Regions from separate parts of the Homo sapiens genome. Here region 2 is linked to region 1. Evidence: promoter capture Hi-C in 16 types of primary human blood cells and fetal thymus (Javierre and others, 2016). All regions are on one chromosome and are shown on one strand. The core of a region is centred on a gene start or on the middle of the fragment in contact, and the rest is flanking DNA. Distances in the headings are between cores, read along the strand shown.

Region 1 (5,883 bases), core at 2,341-4,840:
AACAAAATGTCCACAGTGGTGCCTGAAACTGAATCCAAATACGTAAAGTTAAAGTCCAGTGCCCTATTTACAATGGGCAACCACTCTTGCCTCTCTAAAGCCAAATATTTACAGCACAGTTTTTAGAACAGCATCATAATTTCTTTTTTTTTTCTTTTGGTTTACAAAGGAATATATCTGCCTGAACTAATCTGATGGAAAATCATAATCCATTTCTTCCCATTAGCCTTTGACTAAACACTAAAGCTAATTATGCTGGCTCTTTTGGGTTCTCACAGCAACAAGGAATTTTAAAGAACACATTTAGTTCCACTGCTTTATGCAAGACTGAGCGGTTTCAAAACATCTAGGTGCTAAGATGTTAGACAGAGACTACGTAAATCTCGTTTACACGGTTAATTAAGACCTTGTGATTTAGGCATACAGACAACATGGATCTACTGGATGGATATGCACACTGTTAATATGTTGTCCTGAGTCTGAGACTGCTACTGCCCCACTGGTTCTGCTCTGAATGCACTTGTAATCACTCTTGGTCAGTACCAACAGCTTAACATCTATGTATCTTTCGTATTAAAATCTTTTCCTCGGACAACTGTGATTTTTGTACTAGCTAACTGGCAGCTCGTATGACTTTGGAGGCATGAAATGTATGAATTACACCGTTCAAATTTAACAGAAACACAGGCAGATACAGATCATTTGGGTTAATTTCCTATGGTTTTGGTTGGATATTATTAAGGAGTCTGGGAGGATTTGGTAAGAGGTAGAGCTTTGTTCCACCTTCCTGATTTGGTAGCACAGGCAGGATTTCATGGAGAAAGGAAACTGCTAGACAGTTGTTCTGGAAAGTAGAATCCATTCCCCCAAGTATGGGAGGGTTCTGTCCCTGAGGAGGGGTCTCAGAAAAGCAGATATGCTGATGGACTGTGGAAGGAAGCTATCTGCATAGGAAGGATGAAGACATTCTTCCTAAACCGAAAGGGATCCAAGTCCACTTTAACTTGCTCAATTACAGCTTAACCAAATTCAGCTGATCTTATAATACAAAGTCACAAATCCCATGACAATCCTGCTGCCTTCATTCTGCAGCCACTTAAGCTAAACACCTCTCAACCACCTCAAAAATCTGTTTACTCTCTGAAAATGGGATCAGGGACTTCCTCTCCTGATTACCTACCCAATATGAAAATACAATATTTATTTTCACAGATCGTATTATTTTTTAAATGGCAAAAATATTACTTCCATTCATATTTTAGAAAATTGAACCAAGATTTGGAATGACATGCTTTTAATGTGGTTCCTACAGCTTTTCTATGTAAAACGCAGGCTGGCACCGTTTCACACAGGGAAGTAGCTCAGAGAGGAGGCATGTCCACAGACCGCGTGGTGACAGGTGACTGGGGGAAGTTCGGACCTCGGGCTTCAAGTCCTGACTCATCACTAACGGGTTCTAGAGCTCTGGGCCCTTCGATCTTCATCTTGAAAATGACAGCCTGAAAGGACTTTTTACGGCCCCCTTCAGCTTTAAGCTGGTCCTGACCTAATCACATGTTTCAAGTTCTAACTGAAAATTACGAGAAGGAAATTAGGAAAGATGTATCAAAGTCCATGTTTATCCTGGATTAACTTTGTCACCATTGTGCTGCTGTGGAGGCAAACCTGTTGCATCACATGGAATACCCTATTTCTGGCTGTGCATTAGAAATACAAGAGGCAGCCGACTGGCTTTTTATATTTTCATTTTTTAAAAAAGTAAACAATAGTATCCCTCGATGATGGGAAGTTCTCAGGTTTCACCTTTATAGTCTGAAAGTACACACAGAATGCCACCTGGCAGACAAGGGCCACACAGCTGAACCCGGGGTATGCTGGCTAGCTTTACCACGCGTGAAGACTCACTTTAAAGCCACGTCCCCAATCCTTACCAGGGGGCTGATCAGTGCCGTCGCTGTTACTGGTGGGGCGATTAACCGTGTAGCGGCCAGAGAATGAGGTTTGCGTATTACCTGCCCATGTATTTATACCCACCTCGTGTGGCTTGTGGTCACCAGAGCAAGAGCATGCAAATTAAAAGCAACGAGATTTGACCTTAGATCTTACTGGACACATCTACTACTATATTGGAAACAGGAAAAGAAAGAGCTTTTGACACAGCACCTGGTGGAAGGGGCAAACCTCCATCTCCCCATACATTGCATTGTTGCAGTCTTCAGAGTTTCAAAGGCTTGCCGTTTCTCCCTGAAAAACACGGCCGGTCGGGAGGGATTTCTGGCGCGGCCCACTCACCTCTTTGATCTTTGCCCTTTTCTCGCGGATGGCGGCGTCGGCGGGCTCCCGGCTCTCCACCCCGATTGGGGGCACGAAGTCCACCGGGGGCAGGCCTCTGAACGGCGCCTTGTCACGCAGCTGGTCCTGGGCCACCTTCTTCTTCTCCAGTAGGATGTCTCTTTGGATCTCCTCGGGCAGCTTCTGCAGGGTCTCCTTGGCTTCCCTGAGAGCCCGCTCGTGGTTTTCGCGGATCCTGGCCAAGTTGTCCTCCAGGGCGGCCTCCGGGTCCCCGGGTGCCCCCTCCTCGCGGCGCCGGGCTCGCCCCTCGGCCGCGTCCTCGGCGCGCGCCCCGGGCCCGGGCTTGTGGTCGGCGGCCGGCTGCAAGGCGGGGCTGGAGTGGAACAGGACCCCGCTGAGCAGCTTGGAGGAGTCTGGCAGGAAGAAGATCGCCCCGAAGCAGAGCGTGATGAAGGCGCTGAATACCAGCAGCAGCACGAACTTCTCCGTCAGGCGGAGGGCGGCGGGGCCCGACCCCTTCCTGCCACCGCCGCCGCCGAGCCCCCCGCCCAGGACGCCGCCCGCGGGGCTGCTGAAGAGCGGCAACAGGCCCCCCACGGGCATCGCTCCCGCTGTCCAGTGGTCCGGCGCCGCGCCGCTCAGCAGCCAAACTTCGCCGCCGCTGGGAGTCCGCGGCTGCGGGGCTGGGTCCTGCGTAGCCAGGCCGCCCGACCCCCTCGGCTGGGCTGCGGATCCTCCCTGGGGGAACAACTCCGCGCCGGGTCTTCTCCCCGGGGCGGCTCCTCGGGCACACAGGCACGCGCGACAGACCGCTGGCTGCAGCCCCTGCGGGGAGAGAAACAGTAAAACGTAGTAATTACGGCGATGATAAAGTTTCCAGCGGGTCTCCGCCCTCCGACTCCTGGCGAGCCTCCAGGACCGCTCCCCTTAAGCAGAGTCCTGTCCAGTCCGGGCACCGCCCTCGCAGCCCACTCTCTGGACTTGGGGTGAAGTTATCAGGTCCCGTGGGTAGGGGAGGGGTGTCCCGCGCAGGAAGGGGTCAGGGCAGCGCGCGAGCACCTCGGGGAGGGGCAGCGCACCTCTGGGCAGGAGGGGCGCAGCGTGGGCGGGAGACTCGTCAACTTCGCCCGCTCCCCATCTCCGCGCTGAGACTGCTGCCTCTTTCCTAGGCTGGGCTGAGCGCGCTGTCCCACGGTCCCGCAGCCCCGGCGCGGCTCAGGTGGGCGAGCGCGCCGACCTGCGGGCGAATGGCAGCGAGTAGAGCAGCACGGTACACTCCGCCGCGGCCCCGCGAGCACTAATCTCACTGCCGGTCTTGGGGCGGTGGAAAGCGAGGGAGGCGACGCGGCCGGAGAGTGACGGCGCGGCCGGGCCAATCACGCGCCGCCCAGGGTCCCGCGGGGGCGGGGCCGAGGCGAGGAGGGGGATGCGCGGGGCGGGGAGTTTACGGGAAGCGCAGCCTCGGCGGGGCCCGGCCGGCGGCGGGGAGGTCGCGGGGCCGGGAGGCGCGAGGTAGGCGGGAGCCGCGGTGAGGAGGACGGTCGAACCCGTGGCTGAGGCCCAGCGCCGAGAAGCGGCAGGCAGAGTTCGGGGTCGGGGAGTTTATCCTGCGCTGGCCTCGGCAGGGGTCCCCGGGGTGGTTGATCCTCGACTGGCCCGGGAGGCGCCTGGGTCCGCGCGGGACCTCTCTGCCTCCTCCTCCGACCCGTGCGGGGCGGTCGGGGGCGCTCCCGAGGGGGTCCCGGGAAAGGCGGGGTCTGGCAGGGGGTCCTGGGCGCTGGGTCGTTCAGAAGCACGGCTTTACTCCAGTTACCCTCTTTTTATCCAAGGCCGGGGTTCCCCGGGTGCCTGGTAGCAGTGAAACCCCAAGTCCCTCGGTTAGGGGAGCCGTGACCCTGGGAGCTTTTGAGCTCTCTGGTATAACATCCTTTTACATCCTAAGAGACACAGTTCTGTGCTTGCTTAGGACTTTTTTCGTATGCGCCCTTTCTTCCCCCAAAAAACAAAAAACCGAAAAAACTTGTATGTCTCTCCCGCCCACCCGTACTTTCACTATTCATTTACCTCATAGAAGTTGGTCAAATTTTCCATTCGAAGACGAGTTTTATGCTGCGGTAGCTTCAAGCAATAAGTCGAACACTGTGTTGAAATTAAGTCTTGGATCCGACTACTTCCAGCGAAGTGAGGAGTTGGTCCAATAGAAATTATTTTCCAAAATGTGTTGTAATTCTCCTGTTGCTCCACAAATAAGGGGTTATCAGAGAGGAAAACGTTGACTGACTTCGCATTTCTGAAAGCTGGTTTGTAGTCGCCTTATTTCATCCTTACCCTTCTCTGGAAATGTGACATTAGTTCTGTTTGTGCTTAAGACAAAGGAAACAGCTGGCACCTTTCGGGAAGGTGGCTCCAGTACAGTTGTTTCCAGGTGTTAAGCTGTATGAGAAAGTAGAAAAGTAATCAGAAATCCTTACTAGTTTTCATTTAATCATTTAATTATTAATTTTAACCATCATTATTTGTCGTCTACTTGTTTTGTGTAAAATGAGTAATACACTCAAAGTTCTTGTTAATAGGAAATTATTGTTTGATAAAGCTGGCTTTATGGCTTGGTTATTTTGATACCTGCTATGAAATTCTATGTCCAGAAGAGTGCAGCATATCCAAGCAGGGTAATAAGTTCAGAAGGACTGAAAAAGAAAACAAAGATGATTTTTCTTTAATGATGGAAAGGCAATTTTTATTTCAAACGATTATGCATTTGTAGGTTGTGCATAGGCTGAAAGGTTTGAATCACTGTGAAATAATGTTTCTAACAACATCCTTAAAACTGAGTTACCTCTTGAATGGATAGATAAATAGGAACTGGGTTAACTACCCCAAACGCTAATCTCTTTATGATCATCCTTTTTTGGAATGATTTATTATTTTAAAAATTATGTTGTAAGAATGGAATTATAGCCCCGGAAATATTTAGAAGCTTTATTTCAAATTAATGTTATTAAGTATTCCAGCAAAACAATAAATTCCACTTTTAAGTATATGTTAAAATGGTGATAAATAAAAGTTATAACTTAATTCTATTTCTGACACTTTAATTTTGATACCAAATCAGTTTGGGCATTTAACTTCTGTAGTGGAAATATTAAAAATTTAGTACGTGGGTTTAAGGATTTTTTCCCCTAAAAACTTTAAATTTATCTATGTTGTTTCTACATCTTTTAAAGTAACTATTCTTTTTAAGTTCATCATGAAGCTTATTTTAAGATTTTTTTCTTATTTTCCGTATTTCTTAAATGACAGGGTTATACTTGCAGCCTGGCTTTGATAATATGTTAAACAAGAAGTTAACATGGGTGGTTGATTATAGGTACATATTAAAGGGTGTCTGTGTACATTAGGTGGGATAAGAACTATATAGGAACACCAATATTTGGGCCAGAGCAAATTTGAAAAATTCACAAAGAAGGTATCTGAAGAGGCATAGCAATCGAATTATGCATCCTCTTTAAAATAATCACATGAAGCCCTGTGTGCTCATGGTAAGGGAGGAGTAGAAAATAGTCAACAAGTAAAATTGTGCATTTTGTAGAA
Region 2 (5,883 bases), core at 2,042-4,541, 3.1 Mb before region 1:
GGACTTTAATGATTCCATAATTTTTAATTAATATGAACAACTTCATTCAAGCATTACATTTATGGGTAAGGTGAAAAATAAGAAATCTAGCAGAACAACATGCTTTTATTTTACCATCATGCATAAAAAGGAAGACAAATATGCCAATGGTACACTTCCAATTTGTCAGAGCAATTTCACAGTATTTAAGCAATTTAGGAAAAAAGATATATCACTTACTAAGTTGTTACCAGGGAAAATTATCATGTAAGACAATCAATTAAACCATACTTTTGTAGATTATTTTTCCATGAAGGCAATTTGACAAGCCTAACAAAGACCAAGTTGTTCAAACTATGTTTCTAGGAATATAGTTTAACAGAAACAAGAACAAGTTGAAAACTGTTATGACTATTCATATGTCTCTATATTGTACAGGCAAGTAAGACTGTTGTTCTTCCAAATGTTCCCAATTGAAATCAAAAGAATATCTGTACAGCTCAATTTTCACAATAAGTTTAGAATCAGAAAAAAAAATTTTACTAAATCCTAATGAAATAACAATCTTCCACATAAATTAGGTCACAAAACAAGTAAGAAAGCATTCAAAGTTGCGCTGTCTTTCTTTAAAGAACCCTTGTCTAGGCAACATATTTAACACTTTAACCCCTTCAATTCTCCCTGAAAAGTATTTTTCCATTCATCATCATTGGGGAGTAAGTACTCCTTCCTCGAAAGCTCTTAACGACAGCACAGTCTTCACTCTAGGCCCAATTTTTACCTGGCCCATGCCTCTAGCCTTTTGTTCAGTTTCTCCTGCTTAGGGCACCTTTCATCCCATCTAGATGTGTCTCTCTTTAACTATTCTAGGAGTTGATAAAAGGGCTAGGAAGTAGGAAGTTGGGAAGAAGGGGAGGGGCGTAAGAGCTCTAGCACTCTATTTTACAGGCCAACTTCTTTGCCTCTGAAAATGACAGAGCCAAAATGAAATAAAAACCTTGCTTTTACAAATGTTTCTGAGCTATCACTTTTTTAAGAGAGGATTGGGAGGCTAAGGAGGGCGGATCACGAGATCGGGGTTCGAGACCAGCCTGGCCAGCATGGTGAAACCCCGTCTCTACTAAAAATATAAAAATTAGCCGGGCGTGGCGGCGCGCGCCTGTAGTCCCAGCTACTCGGGAGGCTGAGGCAGGAGAATCGCTTGAACCCGGGAGGTGGAGGTTGCAGTGAGCCGAGATCGCGCCACTGCACTCCAACCTGGGCGACAGAGCAAGACTCCGTCCTCCGTCTCAAAAAAAAAAAAAAAAAAAAAAAAAAGGAAAACAGGGAGAGAGAGGGACCTTGGCAGGAGCCAATGTAGGGCAGGTAGCAATAGAAAGTGACTAGAGGTGAAGGAAGAGCAATGAAGTACCATAAATCACACAGAACAAGTGGCTCACTGCTTTTCTCCTCTGAGTTCATTAACGTCCAGTAACTGTCCACAGGGCATGTGCCCATACTGCTCAATGCAGAGCTGAGTAGGTGGAACAGGCTCCCAAAGCTAGAAATCCAAGTGACAGCAACCAGTTCAGAGGCCCTGGGAATAAACAGGGTCCAAGCAGTGCAGATAAAGGCAGTACAATCTACAGTATCATTTGCTTGGCTTACAAGTAGTGTGAAGGATGACCTCGTAGCATGTGATATTCCAGAACAGCATGAAGGTCATATGGAAGTGGAGAAGCATACCCACCACCGTCTCAATCTTGAGGTTGAGAGAACTGAATATCCAAAGGAAACAGGGTGCAGAAAAGTCAGCAAAAACAAAGCACAATAGAAGGCATACTCATTGCTGATGCCCAAGCACAGGTCCAGCAGAAGGTGGTAGGAGACCTTGTGCAGGAGTATTCCCAAGGGCAAATGTTAACCAGACTGGAACCCAAAGGGCCTGGGGATCTCTACAGGCTCCCTTAGCGGGCGACGTCGGGCTCTACGGACTCCTTCACGCAACAGGTAGTATTGCAGTGGATTTGGCCACAGATCCTCTTTAATAATCTCAGCAATTTTGTCGGACTCTGGAAGGCTGTGGTCTGAAAACCAAGTGAAGAAGCTGCAGATGAGGTCTTGGTTTCTGCGAATGAAGGACTGGGGTTCATGCCCCCTGCGCCATATAATTGGAGTAGAAAGAGACACCACTCGGCCGGAGGATCTTACCTCATATTCCTTGACAATCAGCTTGTTTCTGAAGTAGGGGTTTCTTCTAAAGAAGAACTTGAACTTGCAACCGGTTCTAGGGTGTCTGAGTTCCTTCACCTCTAAATTGGTTATGTACCTTAACATCTCTGCATCTTGGCCCCTAATCATGGCGGACAACTGGGGGTGGTTTCGAAAAGCAGTCATCCAGAAGCCCGGGATATTCTGAATGATGTAGTTCCTCCGCTCCAGGTAGTGTCGACGCATCCGCCCAAACTTGTGCTCCAGCTGTTGGAAGGCCCTGTCGGCCTGAGCATTCACAGTGTCCAGTTCCAGCTGGATGGCCTCCAGAGGGTCCATGCGGAGAGCCTCATGCAAAGGCCAGGGCCCTTCTTCCTCCCTCGCCTCCTCCTCCAATCTATCCTCCTCCGCCACTTCTATTTCTTCACCTTCTGGCGGCTGCTCCTCTACCTCCATCTGCTCCTCCATTACCTCCTTCTCCGCCAGGCCTTCCTTCACCACCTCAGCGCTCTCCCTCTCAGCCACGGCTGCTGAGACGGTGGCGCACTTTCCTGTCTTCACCTCCTCCGCCTCAGCCTCCGCCCCCGCCGTCAGCTCAGACGCGGATCTCTGGGCGCCACAGATTTCTAGGGCCTTCTCTCCACCCTGAACGCCCTTTTTCAGGCTGCGGTCGGCTGCCATCACCACAGAAGCGGCTGCCAGGCCTTCGGCGGGAGGCTGGCCCTCTTCCTGCCCGGCTTTGATCGCCACATGACCGCGACCCCCAACAACTCGGATCTGGGGAGTACCGCCACGGCCCGCGGCATCCTGGGGTACGCCCCCCTCCTCTGAAGGCGGTGGAGGCGGGAGCGCGACGGTCTCCGAGCCTCCCTCACCCGGCTCCGCCATCACCTGTGTCGCCTCGCTTTGGTCGCGGAGCCTCAGGTACTGGTGTGCGTCCTGGTCGCTCGGGACTTGGTCAGAAATAATGATGCTGTGGGTTTGGAGGGGAGTGGTCCTCTTGACCCCATCCAGGCCGCTCATGTTGCTAACAGTCGGACCAACCGCAGGCGAACGCCCGTTTTCCTCAGAGGCCGAACTGGGAGCTAACCGCCGCTCGCACCGCCCACCCTACAGTCTCACTAACATTTCAGCGGCGGTGTCGTCAGGACTGGAGATCTCACGGTATCGCGAGAACTTGCTGAGCCCGGGATTGGTTCCGCCGCTCCCTGCCAGCCAACCGGATTCTCTGGGCTTTATTTCTGTGAATTTACCCATAGCAACAGTAATTTTACCTACGTAAATAAATGTCGATTGTGCTGAGTCTGGAAGCGCGGACGACCCACCTTGAGATGCATCTAGCGACTGCTCCCAGCATGTAGGAGCAGTTGTAAAATCACAGCCGTAACAGTGCCTGCTCTCCAGTGTCTGAAAACAAATGTTTTTCTGGTCTTCACTTTTTTGAGGCAGGAAGGTAAATCTATTCCCTGTTACTCCACGTAACTAGCAGCAAAAGACTTCTCTTTAAGATTAATAGCAAAATGTTTCCCCCCTTCTTAGTAAAAGTGACATAAAAATATCAATTCTTGCCTCTACGGTTACTGGGGAAAAAAAGCTACTCAGCAGCCTCTTACCACTAAAGCGATGCATAGTATTCATTGCTAATTTTCGATTTATAATCTGCATCAAATAAGAGTTTGTGCTGCATAGTATCGGTAGAAATTAAGCCAGGATCAGTTTGCTAAATGTTCCATGCCTTTTCACTGCAAGAAAGAGGAAATTATAACTATTTCCAGCCCCAAGAACTTAATTTATTATCATATTTAGTTATGTAAGATAGGAATGTTTGGCTCTAACGAAGCATCTGTCTTTAGCAATCAGCTGAGTTCATTAGAGGGGGATGTCAATGTCTCTGGTTGAAGTGTTCCAGTTTGTTGACTTGTGAGTTAAACTGGTGCTGTCTTAGAGAGCTACAAGGCCTCAGAGAAATATCAGTGGGGGGAGCCACATACCACCATTTTGTGAGGAAAGGCTAGTTAAAATGGACAACTAAGATGGCCTTGAAGTAGAAAACAAACTTGCAAAGGGCAACATGCAGCTGGTGGACTCAAGGTATAAAAGAGGCAAACGTTATTTTCTACTTAATTTGCTTTGTGTGGTAGTAGCCTGATGGCCCTCAAAGATGTACCTGTCTTAGTTATGCGGCCAAAGGGACTTCGCAGATATGATTAAGTTAAAGATTTGGAGATGAGAAGATGATTCTGGATTATACAGGTGGGCCCTATGGAATTACAAATTTCTTATAAGAAGGAGGCAGGAGGGTCAGTCAGAGAAGATAAGAGGACGAAAGCACAGAGAGAGGGAAGGAATGGTGGAGAATAGGTGTGGGAGGGAGGAAAGGGAAATCGCTATGTTGCTGGCTTTGAAGATGGAGGAAGGAGCCAGGATCGTAGGAATAAAGGCAGCCTCTAGAAGCTTGAAAGGTAAGGAAATAGATTCAATCCTAGAGCCTCCAAAGGAATGACAACACCTTGAGGTTATTACCTCTAAACTCCAGCACTATAAGAAAATAAATTTGTGCATTTTAAGCTATTAAATTTGTGGTAATTTGTTACAGAAGCAATATGAAATGAATACACCTTGGATTAAGGTTTGGTTGCATCTATGGGTGCCTCAAGTTGTTTCTAATAGCAGCCCCTTCTACCTTGCTCATGGCTTCCCGTGAGTTCCTGCCCAACAGCTGTGATGTATTACAGCTTGAATCTGTCTTTCAATATCAAGACCAGAAATATACTTAGGCAAATGCACAGAAAGACAAAATTAAAGCCTAAACATACCACAAACGATATCTGAGGAGACTGTAAACTGCAAGAGGACATGATCATGGTTTCGTTTCCCTCTGTTTATCGAGTGCCTAGCACACTACCTTACACAGTATCCCATAGATTATTAAAATGTTAAATAAAGGAGCAAATGAGCAGAAAACAGTTTCTCTTGCTTGCAACTTGCTCCTTGCGGAAGAGAAGTAAGGGGCATATGGGTTGTCACTCTGCTCTCCTTCCTATCTGCCACTGGCAAACCAGAGGGCTGCTCTATTCTATATAGTAACAGTTTCCTACTCAGGAGAATGAATTTCTATATATGTTTCAAAGGCTCTAAAAGGATAGGAAAAACACAGAGAAAACAATTTTATTTTACAAATAATTTAAGTTTGTGTGGTCACACTGTATGACAAACGAACTCTGAAAAGACCAGCATATTTAGGTGAGTTTACATATCAAAGCCTCGGACTACCAGCACTGTATTTCCAATTCTCTCCTTTCTGAAAAAGTCAAGGTAATCATTTCAGGCTTTACTTCGTTTCTGTCTACAGAAATATATAATGCATTTCTCTCTACAAGTGATGGAGCCTGTGATGCATGGCTGGAATTACTTTTGGTGTAAATAAAAAGGAATATTGGAACTTTCCACAAAGACTGTTTCTAATTGCCATGAAATCATCTTCTATTTTGAACTGGTATAATTTCATTCGGCCTAAAGTGGAAACTTCTATTATTCCAATATGTCTCCTATTTTTTTTTAAGCAGAAAGGAGTGTCAGGCTTGGACCAATCTTAGAATATATGGCTTTATTTGTCAAAGAAGCCATTATGTAATTAATGTAATTAACACTCTTACCAGTAATGCTAGGAAAACTCTAATTAGGATCATGTAAGTATAATCAGGACTCTGCTGA

The links. Contacts are between HindIII fragments. The CHiCAGO score rates a contact against its expected background, and 5 or more counts as called.
Region 2: a contact is called between the fragment with the promoter of TSPYL1 here and the fragment with the promoter of MAN1A1 in region 1, in 1 of 17 cell types (activated CD4 T cells). The highest score is 9.9, in activated CD4 T cells.

The regions. Positions count from the first base shown.
Region 1 is chr6:119,346,171-119,352,053 of GRCh38, forward strand. MAN1A1 (mannosidase alpha class 1A member 1) reads right to left here and starts at 3,591. Exons shown (of 13, transcript NM_005907.4): 1 at 3,372-3,591; 2 at 2,293-3,117. The coding sequence starts at 2,895. RefSeq lists an enhancer at 2,062-2,411 and silencers at 2,622-2,741, 2,802-3,001, 3,512-4,151. The HindIII fragment of the contact is 6,871 bases long and covers 1-5,267 here.
Region 2 is chr6:116,276,639-116,282,521 of GRCh38, forward strand. TSPYL1 (TSPY like 1) reads right to left here and starts at 3,292. Exons shown (of 1, transcript NM_003309.4): 1 at 1-3,292. The coding sequence starts at 3,192. The coding sequence ends at 1,879. It also overlaps a transcript of DSE not described here. RefSeq lists enhancers at 2,656-2,705, 2,726-2,995, 3,226-3,285. The HindIII fragment of the contact is 6,415 bases long and covers 1-4,621 here.